Linked DNA regions of Homo sapiens: regions 2, 3, 4, 5, 6 and 7 are each linked to region 1. The links are contacts of gene promoters, found by promoter capture Hi-C in blood cells and fetal thymus (Javierre and others, 2016). All regions are on one chromosome and are shown on one strand. The core of a region is centred on a gene start or on the middle of the fragment in contact, and the rest is flanking DNA. Distances in the headings are between cores, read along the strand shown.

Evidence for each region. The method cuts DNA at HindIII sites, captures the fragments that hold promoters and counts their contacts. A CHiCAGO score of 5 or more calls a contact.
Region 2: a fragment that was not itself captured here is called in contact with the fragment with the promoter of PDCD10 in region 1 in 2 of 17 cell types (naive CD4 T cells and total CD4 T cells); the score reaches 5.8 in naive CD4 T cells.
Region 3: the fragment with the promoter of TNFSF10 here is called in contact with the fragment with the promoter of PDCD10 in region 1 in 2 of 17 cell types (naive CD8 T cells and non-activated CD4 T cells); the score reaches 8.0 in naive CD8 T cells.
Region 4: a contact is called between a fragment that was not itself captured here and the fragment with the promoter of PDCD10 in region 1, in 1 of 17 cell types (total CD4 T cells). The highest score is 5.1, in total CD4 T cells.
Region 5: a contact is called between the fragment with the promoter of RPL22L1 here and the fragment with the promoter of PDCD10 in region 1, in 6 of 17 cell types (non-activated CD4 T cells, total CD4 T cells, total B cells and 3 more). The highest score is 8.9, in non-activated CD4 T cells.
Region 6: a fragment that was not itself captured here is called in contact with the fragment with the promoter of PDCD10 in region 1 in 1 of 17 cell types (total CD8 T cells); the score reaches 9.1 in total CD8 T cells.
Region 7: a contact is called between a fragment that was not itself captured here and the fragment with the promoter of PDCD10 in region 1, in 7 of 17 cell types (total CD8 T cells, fetal thymus, total CD4 T cells and 4 more). The highest score is 16.3, in total CD8 T cells.

Annotation. Positions count from the first base shown.
Region 1 is chr3:167,733,477-167,736,176 of GRCh38, forward strand. It overlaps PDCD10 (programmed cell death 10), which reads right to left and starts at 1,416. Exons shown (of 9, transcript NM_007217.4): 1 at 1,186-1,416; 2 at 738-874. It overlaps SERPINI1 (serpin family I member 1), which reads left to right and starts at 2,245. Exons shown (of 9, transcript NM_001122752.2): 1 at 2,245-2,347. RefSeq lists a silencer at 1,048-1,177 and an enhancer at 1,228-1,667. The HindIII fragment of the contact is 6,113 bases long and covers 1-2,520 here.
Region 2 is chr3:172,035,937-172,038,636 of GRCh38, forward strand. No RefSeq gene overlaps it. Among named protein-coding and RNA genes, the nearest start is that of FNDC3B, 2.3 kb to the right of the region's middle. RefSeq lists an enhancer at 339-398. The HindIII fragment of the contact is 521 bases long and covers 1,024-1,544 here.
Region 3 is chr3:172,522,107-172,524,806 of GRCh38, forward strand. It overlaps TNFSF10 (TNF superfamily member 10), which reads right to left and starts at 1,324. Exons shown (of 5, transcript NM_003810.4): 1 at 1,147-1,324. The coding sequence starts at 1,278. It also overlaps the pseudogene TBPL1P1. RefSeq lists an enhancer at 1,256-1,305. The HindIII fragment of the contact is 8,260 bases long and covers 829-2,700 here.
Region 4 is chr3:171,461,089-171,463,788 of GRCh38, forward strand. The region is part of intron 1 of LOC102724479 (a long non-coding RNA gene); the gene reads left to right. Among named protein-coding and RNA genes, the nearest start is that of TNIK, 2.0 kb to the left of the region's middle. RefSeq lists an enhancer at 18-518. The HindIII fragment of the contact is 2,430 bases long and covers 91-2,520 here.
Region 5 is chr3:170,868,865-170,871,564 of GRCh38, forward strand. RPL22L1 (ribosomal protein L22 like 1) reads right to left here and starts at 1,331. Exons shown (of 4, transcript NM_001099645.2): 1 at 1,295-1,331. The coding sequence starts at 1,303. RefSeq lists enhancers at 824-873, 1,043-1,769, 1,770-2,495. The HindIII fragment of the contact is 15,380 bases long and covers 1-2,700 here.
Region 6 is chr3:172,104,107-172,106,806 of GRCh38, forward strand. All of the region lies in intron 1 of FNDC3B (fibronectin type III domain containing 3B), which reads left to right. Among named protein-coding and RNA genes, the nearest start is that of FNDC3B, 66 kb to the left of the region's middle. The HindIII fragment of the contact is 2,760 bases long and covers 71-2,700 here.
Region 7 is chr3:170,904,536-170,907,235 of GRCh38, forward strand. It overlaps EIF5A2 (eukaryotic translation initiation factor 5A2), which reads right to left. Exons shown (of 5, transcript NM_020390.6): 3 at 2,454-2,558. Among named protein-coding and RNA genes, the nearest start is that of EIF5A2, 2.8 kb to the right of the region's middle. The HindIII fragment of the contact is 744 bases long and covers 964-1,707 here.

The DNA.
Region 1 (2,700 bases), core at 166-2,665:
GATGCTAAGAAAAATAAAAATATGCAAGAGCCCAATTTTATTATTTGCAGACACACACACAAATACAGCCCAGAGTCAAGAAAATGGGGGAAAAGTAAAGTCTCAAAAAAGACGATGTTACCTCCAAGAAATGCAAAATACCTTCTTTTCTAGTAATGGGCACACTAAACTCTCCTAACGCTACATTATTTGAAAAAAGTGTAGTTTTGTGAAAGAATTCCAATCCCACTATTATCAGTTTTACAAAATGAGAGTAAAAACAGTCCTAAGGTAGAAAAAGAAAAGAATATTCTTCTAAGGATGGGATATATTGTTTAACTGTTGTTCTCCCATCCTATTACCTACCCGTAAAAATGAACTGTGAGAGTAGAGTCTATCATTTAATACACCCCTAAAAAAAGGGGAAAAATCTGTAAAAGTTGAAACTGGCCATTTTTATTTTTTCCAAAAGGATCTTTCCTTTATTGAGGAATTTCACTCCGGTTCAAGAAACAACTTTTTATCTCACAATGGCTTCTTAGATATACTATATAAAATACATTTACTTTGTAACTTCCTCCACCCTTTTCAAAAAGCACAACCAACGTCCCTACTCTAAAGCTGGACTCGAACCGAACTAGATTCAGAAAGTCTGTCCCTACGTGTGTGACCTTGGGCACGTCATATAATCCCTCGGTTTCCTCATCAGCATCCCAAAATGAAAGCGCTCTGAAAGCAGTAAAGGAGTAAAAACATACCTTAGGTATGACACCTAAGAGGGTCAAGTCTTTCTGTTTAAGGCAAAATTATCTCCTTAGAGGGCCACATCATTAAACTGGAACTGAATCCGTAGACCCCAACATTTGTCTCTTCCTTCTTCCAGTGCTCCTCTTCCCTCAAAGGGCATAACCCGAGTCACCCCCAAGAGCCGACTCCCAAGCACCCTTTCCTTCCTCCTCCCTTTTCTCTTACTTACAAAGCAGGGGGAAAACAGCAGCCTCACCTCTCGGTCCGAAGCCACACCTTCAAAGGACCCCACCCCAGGCACATCCGCCCTGTCCCCTCTCCCGGGGCACCAGGGGCCAACCTCGCCCTTCCCCTCCCGCCCCCACCTAGAGGAGACTTCCTGGAGGCGTTCGGGCCCAAGCCGGCAGGCGGCATTTACAAACCCGCTTTACGCCACTCGCGTAGGGTAACCTCGCTTACGCCCGTAGGGCCCCGCTCTCAGCCCCGTCCGCTCCGCCTGCCAGAACCAAGCCCAAGTGCCTCAGCCATGGCCCCTGCGTGACCCTAGACCTCTTCTGCTCGGTGCAGAGCTACGGGGACTGGGACAGAACAGCTACACCTTACCAGCAACTGAGGCACTGACTTCACTTCCCACCTTGCAGCCCTCTTCAACTCCCGGATCAATTCACTCCGGCGACGCCGGAAGGACCCAAGAGGAACCAGGCGTTGTCCGGAATCCTGCCCAGCCGGAGTCGTGCAGAGGCTTATGGGGACTCGTAGTCCCGCTCGCCGGCGTTGTCCGCAATTCCTGCAATCGGAAGACTACACTTCCCGGCAGGCCATGCGGGGGATCCTGAGGCGATGGGTGGTGACACTTCTAGCCAATAGTAGGAGAATTCCCTGCCTTTGCGGGAGGAGGTGAGATGAAGAGAGATGGTGCACGGAAAGGAGAGGAAGGGCGGGGCAAGCCCTCACCTGCGCCAATCAGGGTGCGGAGTAGGCCCCGCAGGCGCCTCACCCATTGAGGGGGCGGGCTGACAGAGCAGAGGAAGGAAGGGGGTGAGGGGCCTGTGGTGGGGATCCTGGGGCTGTCGGGCTGAGTATGCCGTGTGGGTGGAGAGGAAGCCTCGGGGAAATCGCCCAGGTGAAGGGAGGGCTTGGTGTGGGGACTTGCACTGGGCAGAGGGGCAGCTTCCCTGAGAGCAGCTAAGCCCCAGGCACACCGGGCATCCGGACACACAGGTCGGGGAAGGATAGGCTGAGCCGGGGCTCCCAGCAGAGACGCCTGGGTGGGGCAGGAGGCCGCTCCAGGTGTGAGCCACAGAGGAGGGGAGAGGGACCCCCACGGGAGTGGAAGTGGCAGAGCAGCTGCAGAAGTGCAGGGAGCGGAAAGGTACCAGGGCAGCTGCTTTCCGCTGCCTCCGGTCCGGGCAGCTGCAGAAACAGCAGGGGGAGGAGCAACAGCTGCCAAATTCGCCAACTAGAGGAGGGAGAGGCGGAGCTTGGGTCCCTGTAGAAGCCAGAGGCGCAGTCTGGACTGTAGTTTCCCGGGAGAGACGAAAGCAGGAACGAGAGCGGAGCGGAGCACAGTCCGCCGAGCACAAGCTCCAGCATCCCGTCAGGGGTTGCAGGTGTGTGGGAGGTAAGCGTGGGTCCTTCTTCGGGGCGTCTGCACTGCCCTGGAGAAAACGTCTTCCAATAGGAATTACATCAAGACACAGCTAAAAGAGTCCGCGTTGGGTTAGGAAACCGGTGCAAAACCTCTCGGGTGAAAGATTTACATTTTTCGACTTTAAGGGCAAAAAAGCAAAAGGAAGCTTGACTCTGGGTATAAAGGGCGTGGTTAGTGTTTTTGGTTTGAGTTGCACCAGTAAAACTGTTCTGGGAGATCTGAAGATTGAGAAAAATCCTGCTAATTGAGGACGAGGTGGATGTTATCTGGTGGATGTTATAGGTGCGTAGCCTATAAAAAGCAAAAATTTTGCTATTGATATA
Region 2 (2,700 bases), core at 34-2,533, 4.3 Mb after region 1:
CCTCCTGGGCTCAAATGATTCTCCTGCCTCAGCCTCCCAAATAGCTGGGATTACAGGTGTCTGCCATCATACCAGGCTAATTTTTGTATTTTTTTTTTTTTTTAAGTAGAGATTGTGTTTCACCATGCTGGCCAGGCTAATCTCGAACTCCTGACCTCAGGTGATCCGCCTGCCTCAGCCTCCCAAAGTGCTGAGATTACAGGCATGAGCCACCATGCCTGGTGGTCAAGAGCAGTTTTTAAGAGTAGGGGCAGAACTGAGCCTGCCTTGGGAACCTAGCAACTCGAGCTATAGGGAGAAGAAGGACATTGAAACTGAGAATGCAGCTGGGTCTTGTAGATATTACGTGTTACTAGTCATAGTGATCTTTGAGAGAGAGTTTCAAATTTAAACATTTTAGACTACAGAAGTGTTCAGAAAAGTTGAATTGTTTGAGACCTTTTCAATGCTAGCTTCAATACTTTCATTCTTTCCTGTGTACTACTGTTGCATTTTTTGATATAAATTATTTGAGATGAAGAAGTATGACTAAGAATCTTTTTAAAATTTGGACTCAGCCTACATTGCATAGGTGGTAGAAGGGTTTAAGAGTCTCTATATTTTGTTATAGGCCTTAACTTCTAGGCATCTTCATTTGGATGTTAACTTTTGTATTTGAGCAAATCTTAAGGTGCTTTTGGAGCAAAGTTTTAGCCAGGACTATAGTTTCATAATTTGGGACCTAGAGCAGCAGATTATGCAGGTTGTCAACACCAGATAGTCATACTCATTGCCTTAGGTTGAGGTCCTTCTTCCTATTCCCAGAACCATGACTCTGGTGTAAGTCTTATCATTTCCAAAGTAGGTTCAGGGCATGCATCTCTGACATGAGCCTTGTTCTATATCCTGCTGCTAAGATAACCTTGAAACCTATTTTAATTACTTCATGCCTCAATAATCCCACAGTGTTCTCACTGTATTAAATCTAAATCCCTCAAAGTATAGGTGAGAGCCCTCTATCACAAATTCCACCTTTTTCTCTGAAGCTTCCAATTCTGTCCTATTAATCCTTTTAAGAAATATATCTTTATTAATTCATTTACTCATTCATTCATTCATTCATTCATTCAAGGAGTAACCAATATTTATTTACTGAGTACCAGGTGCTTGAGTTTTTTAATCCTCACAACAACCTTGACCAGAAGGTTTATTAAAGATCACAATTTAACAAATAAGAAAATTCAGGTTCAGAGAACTTTATGCCCAACATCACTCCTTTTCTCTCATTATGTTCTATGCTCTCTCCAGTGTACCATACTTCCTCTCATTTTGCAAACATTTAATGGGCTTTTTTTCTGTGCCAAAACTGGTGTTAGGTGTTAGGGCAAAGAAGATGAATGAAACACTGAGATCATATATATGAACATGCATGTGAAATTATAAAGCATTATATGAAAATTGAAACTTTTTCTTCTTAATAAGAAAAAATTCAGTCTAGTGGAAGAAACAGGAATAAATAACTTTGTCCTCCAAACTTCCCTTGCCTACTTTTACCTCCTTTGCCAAGCTTGTCCTTCAACCTGAATTTGACCTTTCACATTCTGAAGTTTGCTCACTTACCTAGTCATTCAGATTCTTCCACATACTTTACAATTAATTCATTCACCAAACACAAAGGGGTCTTATATTCAAAGCAGAATTCTAGGTTGATACTAGGGATACAAACATGAACAAAACTCAGTCAAGTGGAAGAGATAAAGTATAACTAACTTCAGGCTGGGCACAGTGGCTCATGCCTATAACCCCAGCACTTTGGGAGCTGGGGCAGGAGGATTGCTTGAGCTCAGGAGTCTGAGACCAGCCTGGGCAACAAAAATGAAAAAAAAAAAAGAAACATTAAAAAAAAATTAGCCAGGCGTGATGGCACACACTAGTAGTCCCAGCTACTTGGGAGGCTGAGGTGGGAGACTCGCTTGAGCCTAGGAGCTTGAAGACGCAGTGAGCTACGATCATGCTACTGCACTCTAGCCTCAGAAAAAAAAAAAAAAAAAAAAGACTAACTTCAGAGCAATGTGAGAACTGACAAGGATTATAAGATTGTGGGGAAAAGAGGTATGAGACTGTAGGGAGGAAAGGAGGGAGTGGTTTTAGCCGGAGATCAAGGATGAGTAAATGATCTTAAATAGGGAAGAAGAAGTATGTTTCAGAGGGAAGGCACGTACAAAGGGACACAGGTACCTTCTGGAGCCATGAGTGATCAGCTGGGCTGAAGGCATGGCACCTGAGGAAGCCAAAGAGTCTGGAGCCAGAGAAGGCATTTGGACTCAAATGGGATCTATTGGATTGTACCCTATTGGCACTAAGGAACTACTGCCTACCCCCCGCCCCGGCTTCTCATGCAGGACTATGACCTAGAATTGGAGTTATGTTATAGAAAGATGGCTTCAAGTTCCCCTTTGAGGAGCTCCACAGTAAATAAGCCATTTAGGAGAGAGGTCCCCATTTCTCTGGACTCACCATTGCCTCCAAAAAAAAAAAAAAAAGGCTAAAATCTCCCCAAAAGAATGGCAAATGAACAAGGGAAGGAAGGAGCTATTTCTTAGTGTTCTTTAGACTTTAACAGAGTATTATGTACTGCTATTATTATTTTTTAGGTTAACAAAAGTAATACATTGTCTCTAGTGACTCCCTGAATGCTCCTTTGTAGCTTAATAGTTGAGG
Region 3 (2,700 bases), core at 74-2,573, 4.8 Mb after region 1:
TAGATGATGGGTTGATGGGTGCAGCAAACCACCATGGCACATGTATACCTATGTAACAAACCTGCACGTTCTGTACACGTATCCCAGAACTTAAAGTAAAATAAAAAAATTTAAAAATAAAGAAATCTGTTTGCCAGAATTCACAAAGAGCAATAGACCTCATGTGAGTTATGAATCTGAACTTCATCCTGCTGTGTGCTATTGGATAAAGACTCTAAGAGCTACATTACAGATTTTTTCGACAGGAAGTATCACAGTAACAAGGCCCTATTTAAAGGCTGTTGCTACTGCTGTGGAACAGATTTACCCATTTGTGTTTGAAAGCAGGAAAGAAATTTTATCATTCACCACTTAATTGGTTAGAATCTCTTACTGTGCACCTTTTAAAACCTGCTGCACATTGGACTCAAAAGGAAAACTGAACCAACGGTAATTGAGGAAATAGACTCTTTTATTTATTCATGGCTACAGTGTAAGCTCCAGTCCCTTTGGATTTTATTCCAAACCTTGTTATAATATAAAAAAGGAAGTTTACAAGACATGTCATTGCTGCTTTTACAAAAGGACATTCTATTTATTTTCGCAGGAATTCTCATGTCCCCATAAGCAGAGCTGTCACAGTGTGCACTACCTTAGGTTGTTTTATTGTTGTCATTGTTATTTTTTTCCATTTTGAGCTAATGTGTTTTATCTGTGAATAGTCTTTTACATTTTTGTATGCTGAAAATGGGCACCAAAGAACCTGTAAAAATTATCTTTTTCAATTGAATGTGCACAAATAAAAGTTTGGAAAAGGAAAACAAAAGAACTACAAAGCATTTAGCAGAAAGCTTTCATGAAGAGTTGCAATGGCTGATATTATAAAATACACATACTTTTAAAAACAAAAAATCCCTCAGGAGTTTTGTTGCCCACATCTGCTAGTAACTAGTGAAGCCAGTTGTGTAACTGCACTTAGTTTACACAATTTCTTGAACTTACAGTTTTGCAAAGACCTCAGTTGTTATGTGATTTAGCAGTTAGAGTGTACCCACAGAGAAAGGAAGCAGGAAAGTCTTCAGAGAGGGGCAAGCTGACATGCAAAGAAGCAGGTAACCAGACATTTGCTAAGCGCCTCGAAGACTGAGTGCACTGCACTGCACTGACCTGCTTCAGCTCGTTGGTAAAGTACACGTAAGTTACAGCCACACAGAGAGACTGCAGGAGCACTGTGAAGATCACGATCAGCACGCAGGTCTGTCCCAGGCTGGGTCCCCCCTGGACCTCCATCATAGCCATGATCCTGTCAGAGTCTGACTGCTGTAAGTCAGCCAGGCAGCCGGTCACTGAAGCCCTTCCTTCTCTATTCTTTTATAGTCAGTGAGGAAATGAAAGCGAATGAGTTGTTTTTCTGGGTTCTGTGGCCTTGGCCCCACCCACATCTATTGAACCTGCAACTGTCCCTCCCCTTTCCTACTGCCCAGGGACAGCTCTTGTCTCAAAGTAGTCGTTGGAAAGGAGGGAAACTGAAAGAAGCTCCTCTCCTTGCCCTCAGGATCCATGCACCCCTTATCTGCACTCACCTCAAGCCCATTTCTCTCTTCTCTTTCTTGCTCTCCTTTTGATAATGTCCTCAGCCAAAGAGGGGAGGGATTTTCTTTGCTTTTCCCTAACATATCCTCATTCTACCACAGAGCTCTAAGCCTCATGGCCTGGCTGTCATAGGCACAAGGCCTGTTTTCTAAATTATAAGATAATTTTTATGACCTGAAACTTCCATATGTGGTTTTTCTCATGCTACTGTGAGGGTGGGAAGAGGGCAGGGTGGGAGTGGATAAAGGAAAATAGAAATACTGTCTCATAGCAATGGTCTTGCTACATAATTCCATCTTGAATGTCAGAATCTAAATATTGACGACTTCTTCCTCTTTGCAAACCTTCAGACACAAATTCTAATCTCCTTCTCAGATCTCCATCCCTACCAAGACAACATGCCTGTGTGTTAGGCTGGACAGGTAGGAAGTAGTTGACACACTCAGAAAGGCAAAGGAAAAAAACATGTGGATGTTTTCCAAAATATTAACCCCATCACAATGTCTCGCTGTCACTATCCTTTTACAGATTAGGAAAAGAAGTTACAGGGAGTTAATTACCCTCAGATTCAGGACCCAGCCCCAAATCTCCCCACTATCAGATGTCATAAGCTGGCCCAGCTGTATGTTGTCTCTATATCTTATTCAGCATTTCTTTCTTTCCTTTTCTTCCTTTCTTTCTTTCTTTCTTTTCTTTTCTATTCTTTCCTTCTTTCCTTCTTTCTTTCTTTCTTTCTTTCTTTCTTTCTTTCTTTCTTTCTTTCTTTCTTTCTCTCTTTCATGTATTTATTTATTTTTTTGACAGAATCTCACTTTATCGCCCAGGCTGGAGTGCAGTGGTGCAATGGCACAATCTCGGCCCACTACAACCTCCACCTCCCAGATTCAAGCAATTCTCCTGCCTCAGCCTCCCAAGTAGCTGGGATTACAGGTGCATGCCACCATGCCCAGCTAATTTTTTTGTATTTTTAGTAGAGATGGGGTTTTACCATGTAGGCCAGGCTGGTCTCGAACTCCTGACCTCAAGTGATCCTCTTGCTTCAACCTCCCAACGTGCTGGGATTACAGGCATGAACCACTGCATGGGGCCATTGTTTAGTTATTCCATTCTTGACCCACTGAGTCAGAG
Region 4 (2,700 bases), core at 56-2,555, 3.7 Mb after region 1:
ATGGGAGATCTGAGCGCTCTCTTGGCATCGCCACACCCAGGACTTGCTCGTGCCGCAATTCCCCACGGAAACAACCGAGTTGAAACGAGAAGCTTGCTCTCTGGGTGCAGTAGCTAGAAGGCTTCAGGTAACTCCAAAGCCAACACTGGGTGAGGCAACACACGCCGCCTCAGGACTCAGCATTTCTTTCAGGCTGCGTTTTCGTGGCAGACCTACCCAGATTGATGGAGAAAGTTTGGCTGGCGGATAAGAAGTAACGCGGAAGATGTGTACGTGAGAGCGATTTCACTTCACTCACTTTCTCATTTAAAGGTTGGATGTTTTACAGTGGTATACATGATTCTCCTTCTGTAATCAAGAGTGGGAAGTCGCTTCCCCCAATCCCCGCGCAGCCCTTCTTCTCCCGCCTTAGCCATGCAAAATACCTAGAAAGAAAACACTAAAACTGAACTTTTTTCCAAATACAGCAGTAGCTTTGAAAGCATTCTTTGCTCCTCTGTTAACAGCAGAATGTAATTCTGACCACTGCACTGATGGTTTCTTAATCATGCAGTATGAAGATCAGCTTCAAAATAAGTCTTATGAATGAATGAATGAAAGCCAGTGCAGTTAGTTCATCATGACTGCAGACATTAGAGGACTTTGAAACAACCTTTGGTGTACATTGTACTGTTTTTGTTACTGATATTGTATGTATTCATATGCATTGTGGATCATGCACCATGAAACTTGAAAATTGTTCCAACATCTCAATGGCCACAACAGTTTGGTAGCTTTTGCCTGTAAACGTTGTATGTAAACATTTGAACGTGTTATACTAAATTACTAAACTCATTTTTTACTAAAATCATCTGGTTCGACATAGTAAGTAACGTGCAGTAAGCCACCACGTCGAAATGAAAAAAAAAAAACAGATTATTTCCCATCATTGTCTTTGTTTTTTTCTCTTCTGTGTTCCTGTTTTTTTACCGTTCATCTAGACAACAGGTTAATGTATTGTCTCAGGGTTGAAAGAAGATAATTTAAGATCAAGTATTAAGATCTATAAACAACTATTTTTTTAAAACTGCAAACATAAGGAAATATGAGTTAAATATTTTTTCCATGGAAAGCCTTCGTTTTATACTCATGATTATATTTGAAACATCACAAACAGATCAACTTTTTTGACATTAGTGAGCTGTTTGGGCCACGAGGGTGCCAAGTTGGCATTCAGATTTAGTTTAGTTTTAGATGAGAAAGTTATAGATGCAGTATGATGCCAGGTGCTAAATGGAGGAGGGCTTCCTAAGAGCCTGAGAAGTTGATGAGACAGCCAGGGGAAGGCAGGGGTGTGGGCTGCAGGAAATACCATAAAAGGAGAGATTGCAGTATCAAAGGGACCTCCAACTGGTAAAGGAAGGTGAGAAGGAGGAACTTGAACTTTTTCCTTTTGGTCAAGTGTGTATCAAATTTCAGCTATTCCAGTATAAATTTCCTAATTTTTTCCTATGTCTCTGTATTGCCTGTACTATTTTACCACTTACTTAACATTTTTCTTTAAATCAACACTTTTTTCTTACACTTAATATAAAAGAAAACATAAATCACTACTCTAAATGGAAAGCCAACAACACTTGCTTTGAAAAAAAAAGGGGGGAGGAAACCATTAAAATAAATATAATGGAAAATAAAGAAGTATTATTAAATTCTAGCTAGCCATCAATTCCTGCTCTGGGCTTCTAGCCTAAGGCCTACTCTTAGTTTGTTAAAAGAGAGAATAGCAAATACCAGGAAAAACATTCAAGACTTGAGATTTTTTTCTTGATGTAATCTGAAGGATTAAGAGAACTGACACCATTTATGTGCAGTTTGAAAACCTGCCGAATAATACACTATGCTGTTTACATATGTATAAATATGTAGTAAACTATATAAAGCATGGATACAGGCAGTAAGGATACAGATTAACTTCAGGATAATGAGAAAAGAGGAAGAGGAAAAGGAGACTCCAACAATGATACCTAATTTTTTTGCTAAAGATTTCTGCCAGGCACGGTGGTGGCTCACACCTGTGATGCCAACATTTTGGGAGGACAGGTTGGGAGGATAGTTTGAGTCCAGGAGTTCGAGACCCGCCTGGGCAACTTGGTAGAACCCCATCTCTACAAAAAATACAAAAATTAGGTGGGCATAGTGGTACACCCCTGCAATCCCAGCTACTAGGGTGGCTGAGGTGGAAGAATTGCTTGAGTCCGGGAGGTTGAGGCTGCAGCAAGCCAAGATAAGCCACTGCACTCCAGCCTGGGCGACAGAGGGAGACCCTCTTTATAAAAATGAATAGAAAATTTGAATAATAAGTAATACTATGCTGCAGATATTTTTCTAAGCATTTGTTCTATCTGAATGTTTGTGTCTCCCAAAATTTATGTGTTGAAACCTAACCCCCATAGTGATAGTATTAAGAGGTGGAACCTTTAAGAGGTGATTAGATCATGAGGGCAGATCCTTCATGAACTGGATTAGTGCCCTGAGAAAAGAAGCTTGAGGGAGCCTGTTCGCCCTTCCACCACATGAAGATGCATAGAAGGGGCCATCTGTGAGAAAGGAGCCCTCAGCAGACTTCAAATCCGCTGATATCTTGATCTTGGACTTTCCGGCCGCAGAACTGTGAGCAATTCTGTTTCTGTTGTTTATAAATTACCTAGTCCAAGGCATTTA
Region 5 (2,700 bases), core at 81-2,580, 3.1 Mb after region 1:
CGTCCCAGCACTTTGGGAGGCTGAGGCAGGAGGATCACGTGAGGTCAGGAGTTCAAGGCCAGCCTGGCCAACATGGTGAAACCCCATCTCTAGTAAAAATACAAAAATTAGCCAGGTGTGGTGGTGCATGCTTATAATCCTAGCTATTCAGGAGGCTGAGTCGGGAGGATTGCTTGAACCCGGGAGGCGGAGGTTGTAGTGAGCCTGATCATGCCACTATACTCCCACCTGGGCAACAGACTCTGTCTCAAAAAAAAAAAAAAACCTAAAAACCAACACCGTGGAACTTAAATTTTCCATATCCAAACCTTTTATACCAAGACCATATAATATGGCTACATAAGCAAAATGTTACTGTGGCCAGCAACCATGTACATTCACTGCAATATGAACAAACAAATCTGTATTTATCAGACTATAACCTCCAATTTAGATTCACCCAAGTGGCTACCAAGTATTACACATTAGTTTGCTTTCTCAGGTAGCATGGTAACATGTGCCAAAAGATAATTACCCAGTTGGCGCAGAAGTTAATTTGGGAGACACAAACAACTTCTGTCTAATGGAACAGATAACCCTATAGGGTTTATGGCCATGCTGGGCATTACCCAGTTTTGTAGCTAGCCCAGCAATTTTATCCTAACTTTATTTGTAAATTGCGCATGTATATCTAGCTTTTCAGATATTCTTAGGAACATTTTAACATCTTACTGGTTCCCTTACTAATGACTTAAGTAAAACATCTGAAGCACGTTTATTTCACATTGCTGGAATCTAGACTTATACTTTTCTAAAAATTACTTCACCGAGAAACTTCTTCCCCAACTGAAAGTTCTCAAAAACTTGTGATGTCGGCCATCGCGGGAGCTGAGCGCCTAGGAGCTCCCTCTGGCCTGGCAAAGGTCGTCAGACCGGCCCGATTACCCACCATTCCCCTACCCAGTGCTGAGTGGCAAAAGCATTATCAGGCGCGAGATAGTAAAGAAATGGCTCAGATTGCAGTACCACCGGCCCATTTACAGTTGTGCCTCCCTCTTTCCCGCGTGTCCAAAACCACCCATCCTAAACCAATTCCGGGCCCAGCTCCAACTCCACTAGACCTCATGGCAGCTGCCAGGGAGTCTCGAAAAACAGTTCAGGATCCTCGCGTCTTGGTTGTGTTTCTGACCCAGACTTCACTACTCCCCTCCCTTTATCTTGACTGAGACGTCTCCACTCGACAGATGCAAAAATCGTTACAGCGGAAATCATTAAATTGCCACACAACACTCCCACCAAGACATCGCTCACTCACCGGCGCCATCTTGCGAGTCGGCCGCGAGAGCAGAGAGGAAGCTACGGCCGCGCGGTCTGCATTTATATCAAAGCGTGCTGCGTCACGCGCTGAGAGCGTCAGATTGTCGCCTCCCGGAAAAGAAAGCGGGAGGAGCGCTGAGGCCGGTAACCCAGGAAACCAGTGCGCTGCCGGACGAGAGTAGGCCATCGGCTTTCCGCGGGCACACGCGGGTGGCTGTGGTTGAACTGACTCTCGGGTTTCCGCTCCTGGCTGTTCAAGCCGATTAATTGCAGTGGCCTCTACAGTTACCTAGTGGCTGCTCCCGGATACGGACGCACGCGAGGGATGCAGGAGTCATCTTTCACTAATCACCGGAATCCCCTTTCCAATCAGGGCAAGGCAGTGTCTCAGGTTGCTTTGGGATCTCCTTTTATTGCAGTTATAATCCTCCAGCGAAAAAGTTATTTGTTTGTGTTTTGTCTGTGAGCCTCGTTTTCTAAATGACTGTTGAGGGAAATTGGTGCTTCGGGGACCAGGTCCTCGGGAAAAAAAAATCATGTATATATATGCTTACACGCCCACGCCTGTAATCCCAGCACTTTGGGAGGCCGAGGCCGGAGAATCTCTTGAGCCCAGGAGTTCGAGACCACCCTTGGCAGCGTAGGCATAGGGAGAACCCGTCTCTACAAACAATTTTAAAAAAAATGGCCCGCGTGGTGGTGCGCGTCTGTACTCCCAGCCACTCGGGAGGCTGAGGCAGGAGCATCGCTTTACCTTGAGAGGCGGAAGTTGCAGTGAGTCGAGATCGAGCCACTGCACTCCAGCCTGGGTAACAGTGAGACTGTCTCAAAGGGAAAAACACGTAGTGCTTGCTTCTTGTTCATTCGTTTGGTATAATTTATCATGGGTTTTACAGTTAATCCCAGGTCTCTTGATTTCCATCCAAAATGCTCCCAGTTAAAATTCAATGAATGTTTGCTGTGACCTATCAGTATGTACAAGACACACGAGGGTGGAAGTGTCTTGCTGACAAAAGGAAAAAGTAGCTTTTGAGCTTTGAAGGATTGTAAATTGACATCAGATCCGAAAAGTGGCATGCTGAACCGCTTGGGTTTAGCAGTAATATGTTTTCGTGGAGATGAAATTATCATACCTAGGGGTAGGGGTAAGGGATGGGGTGGACTTTGTTGTTAATTTGAAGAATGACCCCAGAAAGTAAGAACTGTTCGTGGCCTTTATGCCAGCAAGTAGTTATCGTGGAAACTATGCTTTAATAGAGCATATGACTTGTAGAGTCTGAAGAGAGGCCCTGAATTCCTAGAAGAAATCCATTTCAACAAGATTTTTTAGTTGTCTGCCTTAAGAGCTACAATAATCACATTTCTCTTTCCAAACATTAAAGGGAGCAATTGGCATTTCCTCCT
Region 6 (2,700 bases), core at 201-2,700, 4.4 Mb after region 1:
GCAGAAGGCTCAAGCTGTACTTAAATGAAGGAAACAGGTTTTTAGAAGTTTTTTTATGTGTCTTTTTTTAAGCTTTAGTTTAATCAATATTAGGTATGCAGGGTAAGCAATTGGTATTGAAGGGAGGAAACATACTCCCTTAAGATCAGAAAGGAACCTTAAGGGCTAATCTATAATATTGTCATTTTATAAGAGGAAATTAATTACTGAAGTTCAGAGCTAATTATTTTATTGACAAATCCCAGATTAGAACTCATGTTTTCCAATACTCAGTGCTGGAGCCTGTCCACTATAGTTTTTTTTTTTTTTTCCAAAGTTTTTTTTAGCATAGGGGATGTGAAAAATTCTAATAACAGTTCTTAGTCCCTCTCCATATCCTTTTTTTGTGCTACTTAATTTGATTTTTTAAAAAGCAAAGGGGAATGTTTGCCTGAAGTGTACAGGAGCGATTAGCTCAAGGAAAAGCACTAAAACAACCTCTAGGTTTCTCCTGTCCAATGGCAGTGTCCCACATCAGGTTCATAATGGCGACATGCTAATTCCACATGGGCAGAGCCAATGCCAAGGCATTGGTGTAGTGTTACTGGGAAGAGAAAGAAAAGCCATATTCTCACAGTAGCAGGGAAGTGGTCAAAACAGTCAGGTGTGTGTTGATGGATGAGCAGATTTTCCCAGAATTTCAGAGGTAAAGAAGATCACATTGTGTTTCTATTTTGTTTTAATGAAATTTTTTTCCTTTTGTTGATGCTGTTGGTGTTTCCATGGTTATTATCAAAAGCAGTTTCTGGTTTTGCTGAAAGGCTAGAAATGACAACTATTTTCAGAGTTTCTAGGTCTTGAAACATCAGTCAACCTTTCAAAGCCAGCATTGATCAAGAAGGAAAGAGGTTTTTCTAATGAGGAAAATAAAATAGTAAATGATACTTTGACATTCCATTAGTTGTAGGAATGTGTGCCCCAACTGACTACCTTGCTTTGCTCTCTCTCTTTCCCTCTCTTTTCTAAGTTTTGCTAATAATAAAACTTAGGAAGTACACATTTAGGAAACTGTCTGTCCTTGTGACTGATGGCATTTATACATAAAGGCCACCCGGGGTGTATGGGGGGAGGTTCATGAATGCAGTTTTTCTTTTCTTTTTTCTGTGTATATGATTCCGTATCAAATTTTAACTTCTAGATGTTTATTTTTTTAACTGCAGTCAAGGCACAAACCAGTGTAAATCAGCTGCACAAATGTTTGTCATAATAAATTTTTATTAGGTTTTATATTGGAAGCCATTTAGAAACTAGTCTTATAATCACTCATAAAACATTAGCTATCTTATTGTTTTACAAGAGTATGTAGAGTATAGTAATTTCTTAGTAACATCCCAAATCCGTCTTTCTCCAAACACAATACAGCAAAGCTGTGTTTTCTGTGATTCAGTAAGTCAGATTGCATTTTGAGTATTCATGTAGTTTTCCCCACCCCCCTGAATCAGGAATTTTCTTCCCCCATTATTATTGTTTTCTTAAAAAAAAAAAAAAAAAAAGATGGGGTTTCGCCATGTTGCCCACACGGGCCTCGAACTTCGGAGCTCAAGCAGTCTGTCTGCCTTGGCCTCCCAAAGTGCTGGGATTACAGGCATTTTATTACTGTTATACAAATGGCCAGGATGTTTCTCTGCTGTATTTTCTGAAACTTGACCCACTATAGATTCTCACTATTAGAGGTCAGTGGGTATTTTTAGTAGAGAAGGAAATTTTCATGAAGTACGAATTGAGCTGATTTTACTGTGTCTGTGACAATATATTTTTCAGGCTACAGAACAAGCATGTAGCAAGCAAAATGTTTACATGTTGTTATGTTTAAAGTGTGTGAAGGTGATTGGTTAATCTGTGTTGGAAAAGACTAGCTTTATGGAGTACTTGGAATCACAGTTAACTATAGTGGTATGAATTCTGATATTATTTTCAAGTTGCTTTATGGGTGCTTGTATTTGATGGGTTTTGAATTGGAGTATGGAAGTGAAAAGTTAAAACTGAACACATACATTCTACTTACTTGTTATGTTACTCCATCAACCTTTTTTTTAAAGAGACAGGGTCTTGCTATGTTGCCCAGGCTGGACTCAAACTCCCTGGGCTGAAGCCATCATCTTGCCTCAGCCTTCTGAGTAGCTGGGACTACAGGTGTGCACCACCATGCCCAGTTTTCCACTGACCTTTTTAAACACTGCTCCAGGATAGTCAAAGTTAGTGGGAGGTCTCATTAGGGTGCTGGTGAAGTGGGCCTGGGAGCCTCAGCCTGGCTTGTAATTAAACTCAGGGAATCAATTCCTCTCATCCAGGCTGGCCCGGTGGGTTTGGTTCTGATGGGTATACTTTGTTCCTTTTGGTACTGTTATGTTTCTTTTTCTCTTGTCATTTGAAATTAATTTGCGTACTGTACTGCTAACTCACATCTTGAATTAATGTAAGGAAATTTGGGTCATTGGCCCTCAGAGTGAGGACCAGGACATTTTGTTGTTAATTTGAAGGCCAGTTTCACAGACTTAAAAACTCTCCCAGCAGTGATTAGGGCTTTGGCTTTAAGTTAGACATTCTTCCTAGTATATAATTGCTTTGGCCCTTTGCAGGTGGGGGCTGCAGTTCTCTTCTGCGAATCGTTGTTTTTCATGAATTTGGCCTGTGTCTTTCTTAGTATAGGCTGGGACCAAA
Region 7 (2,700 bases), core at 86-2,585, 3.2 Mb after region 1:
CAGGCTAGAGTGCAGTGGAGTGATCACAGCTTAGTGCAGCCTTGACCTCCCAAGGCTCAAGTGATCCTCCCACCTCAGCCTCTGGGTCTGCTGGGACTACAGCTGTGTACACCACCATGCCTCGCTAATTTTTTTTTTTCTGTATTTTGTAAAGATGGCGTCTCACCACATTGCCCAGGTTGGAGAACTAGTTTTTTAAACAATTAACAGAAATAAGTTATTTTTCTATGCTGACTTGAAAATGAAGAGCAGAGAAATACTGAATACTTTCTATGCCAGGCGTTGTTGTATTAACTAATTAAACCTCAAAATGATCCCATGAGGCGTTATTATTTATGTCTCTGCTTTATAAAGAAAGAAATGGAAGCAAAACAGGTTAAGTAACTTGTCAACCAAGGTCACACAGCTATTAAGTGCCAAAGTAAGACTAGGACCAGGCCTGCCTGGCTTAAATCATCCTCTTATCCACTTTGCAGTGCGGAGTACATACCAAGGGTTGGGACAAGGGTGAAGTAAGACACTTGTCTTGGGTGCAAAATTAAAGAAGGCACCAAAAAAACCTCAGTGATCAGATAGGCATTTTAATGCAATATTTTAAAAAATTAGAATTAATGCAAAAATCCTATGATAAAATACCAAAATTCTAAATAAAGATGGGATCAGAATTAATTTTCTTTGCGCCTTGAGCTCCTATATGGCTTGTCATTGTTACTAGTTCTGTCTTTATTTAAAATTTTGTGCCTGAGGCAAGAGCCTCCCTCACTTCATTTGCCTCATCCTAGTCTAGGACCCAAACCAAATTTTTCCTTTAAGTCTTGAGCTCCAATCAATGACTGGCTAACCTTATCATAGTATAATAGTAATTATCTGAACTGCTGATACCATCTTTCTGAAACATGCAACAGGCAAAAGCATTCTATATTGAATGAATATTACTGAATATAATTAATATTGAATAGTCAAAGCTTTCATACTTTAAGACGAAAAGAGAAACCCAATTTTGACAACATTCTACGCTCAACTTTAGCCTGCTGTACTATCTCTACCACATTCAGTAATCACATATACATTTAACAAATATTTTTCGAGCACCTACTATGTACCACATCAAAGTTGGTGCTCCAACAATAATGAAATGATTAAGTAGAATTTTTACATAGGAAAAGGGGGAAACAGAACAGCACTTTTTGGTACGTATCTACTTATGGAGTTCTTAATGGGGTACATTTTCTCATTTAATCCTCCTATTATCACTATTTTGTAGATGAGAAAACAGGCTCAGAAAGGTGTATAACTTGTCCAAAATCATCCAACTAGAAAGTGACAGAACTAGATCCAAACCCAGATCTACCTGGTTAAAAAAACCCACTTGCAAGACAATTCAAATTTCTACAAAGACTTCAAAGCAACCTAGAAAACATTTATGACAAGTAGGAAAGTGAAAATATAAAAGTGTTTACTAGATTAAAACCACAAAAAAGTATGTTTGCATGTGGACAAACAGCAAAAGGAAATCATTGCGTAAGTGCAGTTGATAGCAACATTAAAAGAAATTTATACAATACAACAAAGGGTACAGAAAAAAATCAGTTTAAGTCGGATAAAACAAATACCAGTGTCAACTTTGTATTTTTCACTATGTAAAATGAGCAGAAATGAGTTTGATATATGGTATGCTTGATACAGAAATTGAAGACTTTCAAGAAAAGCTTTAGTTATAAGTAATCTGAGCTTCCACATCCTATAAGGTCAATTATTTTGTTATCATCAATACTTCAAACAACAAAATGCTATCATTAAATATGACCTACCCAAATGTATAACTGGAACTAAAACTTGAAATTTACATACATAATTTAGCAAAAGGTCATAGCATGGTCACTAAGTATAATTTAACCAATTATATAGTTTTTGTGTTTTCTTCACCATACTCAGTGACCAGGTACTTTATCCTTTATATTTATGGCTTTCAACTTATTTCTCTACTTAAGAATGTCAAGTTCTGACTAACATTCATTAATGCAAAAACTTGGTAGGAACATGAATTTCAGTAGTTTCTTGAATGTCTCAGGTCTGATCAGTGAAAAGAAACAAAACATCCAGGAGGGATGTTTTAAATTAGAACAAGAAATATTTTACAACAGAGAGAATAGTACTTTTACTAAACATTGGACTTAATTGCAATATGCAGTCACTTGGCCTGAGAACACTAATAAGTATTTGACTTTTTAAAAAATGCAAGAATGTGAAAAAAATAGCAAACTAGCAATAATCCTAGAAAAGTACATGTGTTAAACATCACTATTTCTCCAATTTCTAAGATAGCTGGTGCCTAATAATTGGTTAGAAAAACCTACAAAACTACTCTTGGGTTTTGTCAAATTATTACTGATAGTACAAAGTATTTGCACCTTGAAGAAACAAGCAACATTCTAAAGAAAATCAGTGCTTACTTGATAATCATTTCTCTTAATATTTGGAACATCCATGTTGTGAGTAGAAGGACAAATATCTTCATATTTTTTGCCCGTGAAAATATCAATTCCAACAAGGTGAACCTAACAGAGGAGAACAGGAAACCTGTTTAATCTCTGCCAAGTATATCACTCATTACACACACAAGAGCACAATACCAATGCTGATTACAACAGATTCTTTTTCTCCTCCTTCCAAGGTCATCTAATTTTACTTAAAAAAAAA